Regions from separate parts of the Homo sapiens genome. Here region 1 is linked to region 2. Evidence: promoter capture Hi-C in 16 types of primary human blood cells and fetal thymus (Javierre and others, 2016). All regions are on one chromosome and are shown on one strand. The core of a region is centred on a gene start or on the middle of the fragment in contact, and the rest is flanking DNA. Distances in the headings are between cores, read along the strand shown. Region 1 holds the start of AVPR2 (arginine vasopressin receptor 2). Region 2 holds the start of HCFC1-AS1 (HCFC1 antisense RNA 1).

Region 1 (2,810 bases), core at 311-2,810, 64 kb before region 2:
CCTATTCCCCAGCCAGGGTCCCCAAATTCTCTGCCAGTTGAGGGAAGCCATCTCCTATTCCACTGATCTGGGTGGCATTAGGAAGGCCTTTTCTATGCTCCTAGATTAGTGACAGCATGCGGTTATTGGGGACAGCATGAGGATGTGCATGCGCTGAGGAGATGCAGCTGAAGCGTCAGGCCTGGGGTGCCAGCACTCTGCAGCCTGCCCCCAAGGGGCTCTGCAAAAACATGGCAAAGATGCGGGGTGTGATGTGCACCTGTGTGTGCTGCGGGTGTGTGCGTGTGTGGTGTTGGCTGTGCGTATGTGGTGTGTATGGCTGTGTGGTGGGTACATGTGTGGGTGTGTGGCGTATGGGAGTGTGTGATGTGTGCATGTGTGTGGTGTGTAATATATGTGTGCATGGTGTGGTGTGTGTGTGGTGTGGCGTATGGGTGTGTGGTGGGTGCATGTGTGTGTGGCGTGTGGCTGTGTGCATGTATGTATGTGGTGTGGTGTGTGCGCTGTCTCTGGAAAATGCCCACCCTGTGTTCCCACCACCCTAACAGGGCCGGGAGGGGCCAGGGTGCTGCCAGGCTCTCTGGGCAGGAAGAGGAGGCCTTGGCCGCGGGCCGGACTTGGGCCTGGTCCGTGAGGCTGTTTTGGTCTCTGGCTTCACAGGCAACAGAGAAGACAGACAAACAGGAAGAAAGCAGCTGCCTTGGGCTGGGCTGGGCTGGGCTGGCCTCGGCTGAGCCAAGCCAGGCCTGGGTGCGGGGGGAGTGGAAAGAGAACTACTGGGATGGGGGCTGGAGGGGGTGTGGGGACAGGGGAAGGAGAGAGGTGTTGGGGGAGGGAGGAGGAGGGCTCAGGTACAGGGAAGGTGCGTCCATACTCATGGTATGTTCAAGAACATGAGCGAGCGTCTCTGTGTTGTGTGTTTGTGGCTGTGTGGCTGTATCATGTGAGGTTGTGTGTGGTGGGAGGGAGCCCGTGAGCACACGGAGGTCCCCAGCCCCTCTTCCTAGGACAGGTAGTTGCAGGTGGGGCAGGAGGAAGAGGGTGGGGGTGTCCCTGGATCTCACAGGGGTTCGTGAAGCCTGGCTTGGCCCCTGCCCCACTCCTCCCTTTCCTGTCCCTCGTCTCCGGCCAACTGGGCCCTAACTGGGGAGGAGGAGGGGCCTGCGTGGGCCTGGGAGGGGCCCAGCGAAAGTGTTTTCACCCCTTCCTTGCCTGGGCCCAGCGAGGAGCAGGAGGACCCCAACTTGGGAAGGGGGCGTGAAGCTCCCATGAAAAAGCAGCGCAGTCCTGGGCCAGACCCACCGCTCTCTGGCCTCAGTTTCCCCACTTATAAAATGGGAATGCTGAACTAAGTGACCTCCCAGAGCACTGCCAACCCAGACAATCCAACCAGGGGGGCGTGGTAGGGTGAGGGTGGGCGTGGAGGCTATGGCAGTGGGAGGAGGGAGTCCTGGGCCGGGACCAGGGAGGCCCTGGGGAAAGGAAGGGAAACAGGAGGCCAGGGGAGGCCTGGGGGAAAGGGGGAGGGGGAGGAAGTCCCCTCCTGGCCAGGTCACTCCCAGAGGCTGGGCTGGGCCAGGGCAGGGCAGCCGATGGAGAGCAGATCTGAGCACCCAGCCACCTTCACGCCACCGCCCAGCTGCCCAGGAGCCCAGCCAGGTAAGGGGCTGCGCCTGCCTGCCCCCCTGCCCAGTCCCCAGCCCTCGGATGGTGGCCTCTCTCGGCCTCGGTTGGGGCAGGGGAGTTCTGCGTGTCTGTCTGGGGTGCCCACTCCCAAACCCGGGACTCATGGGCTGCCTGGGGGATCCTGGGTTCTGTGCATCCGTCTGTCTGACCATCCCTCTCAATCTTCCCTGCCCAGGACTGGCCATACTGCCACCGACACGTGCACACACGCCAACAGGCATCTGCCATGCTGGCATCTCTATAAGGGCTCCAGTCCAGAGACCCTGGGCCATTGAACTTGCTCCTCAGGCAGAGGCTGAGTCCGCACATCACCTCCAGGCCCTCAGAACACCTGCCCCAGCCCCACCATGCTCATGGCGTCCACCACTTCCGGTAAGGCTTGCCCCTCCATGAGTCCGGTGGGCAGAGTGGGTTTGACGATTCAGGGAAGCCCCTCTTTCTAAAGACCTCCTTCACCCTCACCTCTGGGTGTGTCTCTCCAGGCTGCCAATGAGTGGGGAGGGGAGCACAGCCCCACTTCCCCGCCAGGGCTGGGGCTGGGGCTGGGGCTGGGGCTGCCCTTCCTTCTGGACTGCATGAGCCTGGGGTGTGTATCCCTCATAACATGGCTTTCCTGGAGTCCCCTCTGCTAGGAGCCAGGAAGTGGGTGTCCGGATGGGGGCACGGGAGGCAGGCCTGAGTCCCCCTGCACAGCACCCTCTCTAACCAGGCCCTCTTCCCGACTCCTTCCCAGCTGTGCCTGGGCATCCCTCTCTGCCCAGCCTGCCCAGCAACAGCAGCCAGGAGAGGCCACTGGACACCCGGGACCCGCTGCTAGCCCGGGCGGAGCTGGCGCTGCTCTCCATAGTCTTTGTGGCTGTGGCCCTGAGCAATGGCCTGGTGCTGGCGGCCCTAGCTCGGCGGGGCCGGCGGGGCCACTGGGCACCCATACACGTCTTCATTGGCCACTTGTGCCTGGCCGACCTGGCCGTGGCTCTGTTCCAAGTGCTGCCCCAGCTGGCCTGGAAGGCCACCGACCGCTTCCGTGGGCCAGATGCCCTGTGTCGGGCCGTGAAGTATCTGCAGATGGTGGGCATGTATGCCTCCTCCTACATGATCCTGGCCATGACGCTGGACCGCCACCG
Region 2 (3,037 bases), core at 178-2,677:
AGCAAGGCTGTGCCCCGGCCTCTCTGTGTTTCATCAGCTCCCCCAACCACTTCATGCTCTGCAAGCTCCATCCCTGGTTGCCACTGTCCCATCACCACCTAGAGACTGGTGCCCATGCAGTGAGGTGGCCGGTCAAGTTCAACGAGCTGCCTTCCTCTCTGTTCTACCTGTCACATTAGAGCATTTCCTGTGTGGCATACGACGTGCTGGGAGGCACAGAGGACACCGATCTTGTGCTCATACTCCCAATGGGGTAGGAAGGCTGCATGCCCCCCTCCCACGATGAGACAAACACCCTAGAAGAGCTCTGACCAAGCCGGGCCCTTGGGAGCACAGAGCAGTGCGACTGCTGGAGAGGGGAGGACAGGAGTGGAAAGGGCTTCTCAGAAGAGGTGACGTTTCAGCCGGGCCTTGAAGGGTGAACAGGATTTCCCGACAAATGAAACTAGCAGGGCCAATCAGGAAGTGACTGCAAGAGTCTAGTAAGAGGAGAGGAGGGCTTGGTGTGGAAGGGGACACATTTGATGCCTGCCCAACGCAATGAACAATTAGATACAGGGACAGAGGAGAGAATGGAGGCATTTCAAAGGTGATGGGCCCCAAAGACAGGTGGCAGAACGGCCTCTATGAAGGTTTGCACTCCCGCCCAACTCCGCCACCAGCTGGGAGGGCGACCCTGGACCTGTCACTTCCCCTCTTGGACCCCAATTTCCTCATCTGCAGAAACAAGGAAGTAGTTCCACTAGGTATTTTCCAAGGCTCCCTCCAGCTCCAAGAACCTATGGACATTACAGAGCCACCGTAGCCAAAGCTCTCGCTCCCCCACCCCCCACACCTGGCAGCACTCTGAATCCTTTGGCTTGCCACATGGAACTAAAATTCCCTAAGGACAAGCACAGTAGCTACCCTAAGAGCTCTCAAAGCACACACCCCCTGAAGCTTTCTTATCCTAGCAACGGGAACCCCTTCCAGATCAGCTCTCTCCAAAGGTACAAGGCTTTTTGAGGACTGATCCCGCAGAACTGCAAGGGGCACAGGCGTGAGAATATGCCCTGATCTCATCCCAAACACAACAAAAGAAGACAAGACAAAGGTGACGAGGCCGGGCTGGCGGGAGGGGGCAGAAACCCCGGTGAGGAAGAGGGCTTCAGGTCTGCCAGCTGCTCTCTCGTCTGAGGAATTGCCGATGACAGTTTCCAAACTGCTACCCTGGAGGATCCCAGAGCTTCATTTTAAGCAGCCCTTTGGAAGGCAGGCTACCCCTCTAATGCACAACCTGTCTTTGCAGACTGGTAATGAATTCATGCCAAAGTGGTCAATTCATTTTAATAAACTAATGAATATGCAGAGGCCCCAGGAAGCCAAGGCAGCAGTGGTGGTGGACTCTGGAGCCGACTGTAATTAGGCCCCTGCCCTACTTTCTAAAATTGCATTTCCCTGCCAGGGAGCCTGCTCCAGGCCTTATGAGAAGAAAGTCGGTCCACAGAGTGGAGAAGGTGCTGCTCATGGTGACGGTGCCTCTATAAACAGCCCCACCACTGGAGAAGCCTTAGCTTACTGAGCTAATTCCTGCTACTGCAGCTGCCTGGGCTGGCGCGGGGCACCACCAACCACCAAGCGCCCCCGCCCGGGGGCTGCTGAGAAAGGCCCTGCTCCCTGGAGGCAACAGGTGCTGAGAGACCTGGAACGAAAAACGGTCACAGACAACCCACCAGCCTTTCAAAGTCAACGTGGTAGGTGGCGATAATCTCCGAGATGTGGAGAAACCAGCACTTTCTGCCTTGGGGGGTGGGGAAGGAAGCGGCACCCAAGAGCCCAGCTCCAGCCTTCCCAACTCCCTAAACCAACTTTCTCCCTCCAGGCAGCTCCAGCTTCCCACCCCCAGAGCATCGAGGCACTGGAGCTCAGCCAAAGAACAGCAGCCTCTCACCGCTCAGGACACAAAGCCCACTCAGCGAGGGTTTGTCTGCAGGGCCACCACCGAGGCCAGGGGATCGCTAGAGCCCCCAGGAGAGAACGGCCGCGGAGCAAGGGGTTAGTGCTGGGAGCCGTGCCTGCCACTCAGGACTAGGGCATCCCAAGGCCCTCCCCCAGCCGCCTGCAGGGGGCTTTTCCCTCACCCAGACTCTTCCAGCTCTTGCCTGGGACCGAACTCACCCTGACCCTGCCTTCTGGGCAAGGCCAGGGTCCTGTGGGCCAACGGGCAGTCAGTAGGCAACTTGGGAACTGACCCTTGTGCTAGGGGCACAAAACGGGCCAAGTAGCCACCAAGAAAAAGGATGCCACAAAGCTGTCGTGGACAGCAGCAGGCTTTCTGCCCTAGAGACTAAGCAAGGCTACTAGGCAGAGGCAACAACAAACGGCCCCCACGAAGGCCGTGGTGCATCAGCCATACCTGAAGAGAGAGGTTCCTCCCCTTCCCAACTAACGGGCTTTGGGTTTTGCAGGGAGGCAGAAGAGCGGGTGGGGTAACCCCCTGGATCCGCAGAAGCGGGGAGACACACGACTACGCAGGCCGCTGAGGGGTAACTGGAATTCAGCTTGTAAACCAGAAGGCACCAGATTAGGAGAAGGGGCGACTTGGAAAGAAATGCTGCAGAAGTAAACGTGGAAAGGGAGAGGCGGCCCTGCCGCCGGCCCGTCCTAGGGGTCCCCAAGGCTCCGGCATTACCCGGGTCGGCGGATGTTAAACTCTGCGTCCTAAGAGCGCTTCCCTTCCCTCCCTTTTTCGAGAGACAGAGAACGAATCTGTAATCTAGAAATGGTCATTTCTCCAGAATGGGCACTCGAGATGAGGGAGAGCTGAGCAGGCGCAGGAGAAGGGAGGGAGGGAGGGAGGGGAGCTCTGCCTGCGCCAAGGGGACACATCCGCCCGCCCCAGCCCCAGCCCCAGCCCGCTGGGTAACGGTGTGGGTCTGAAGTCACCACCGCTGGCGACAGCCCCTCTCCCTCACCAGTCGGACTAGGGGCTTTCTTTTAACTAACGAAAACCAATCCTCAAACACGGGAGAGACAAGGGAACGGGGAGAAGATCAGA

The links. The method cuts DNA at HindIII sites, captures the fragments that hold promoters and counts their contacts. A CHiCAGO score of 5 or more calls a contact.
Region 1: the fragment with the promoter of AVPR2 here is called in contact with the fragment with the promoter of HCFC1-AS1 in region 2 in 1 of 17 cell types (monocytes); the score reaches 5.6 in monocytes.

The regions. Positions count from the first base shown.
Region 1 is chrX:153,903,113-153,905,922 of GRCh38, forward strand. It overlaps AVPR2 (arginine vasopressin receptor 2), which reads left to right and starts at 1,561. Exons shown (of 4, transcript NM_000054.7): 1 at 1,561-1,659; 2 at 1,862-2,058; 3 at 2,420-2,810. The coding sequence starts at 2,034. The HindIII fragment of the contact is 5,945 bases long and covers 1-2,810 here.
Region 2 is chrX:153,967,338-153,970,374 of GRCh38, forward strand. It overlaps HCFC1-AS1 (HCFC1 antisense RNA 1), which reads left to right and starts at 1,428. Exons shown (of 3, transcript NR_046608.3): 1 at 1,428-1,733; 2 at 1,862-2,034; 3 at 2,448-2,754. All of the region lies in intron 1 of HCFC1 (host cell factor C1), which reads right to left. RefSeq lists a silencer at 1,887-2,065 and an enhancer at 2,852-3,037. The HindIII fragment of the contact is 6,911 bases long and covers 938-3,037 here.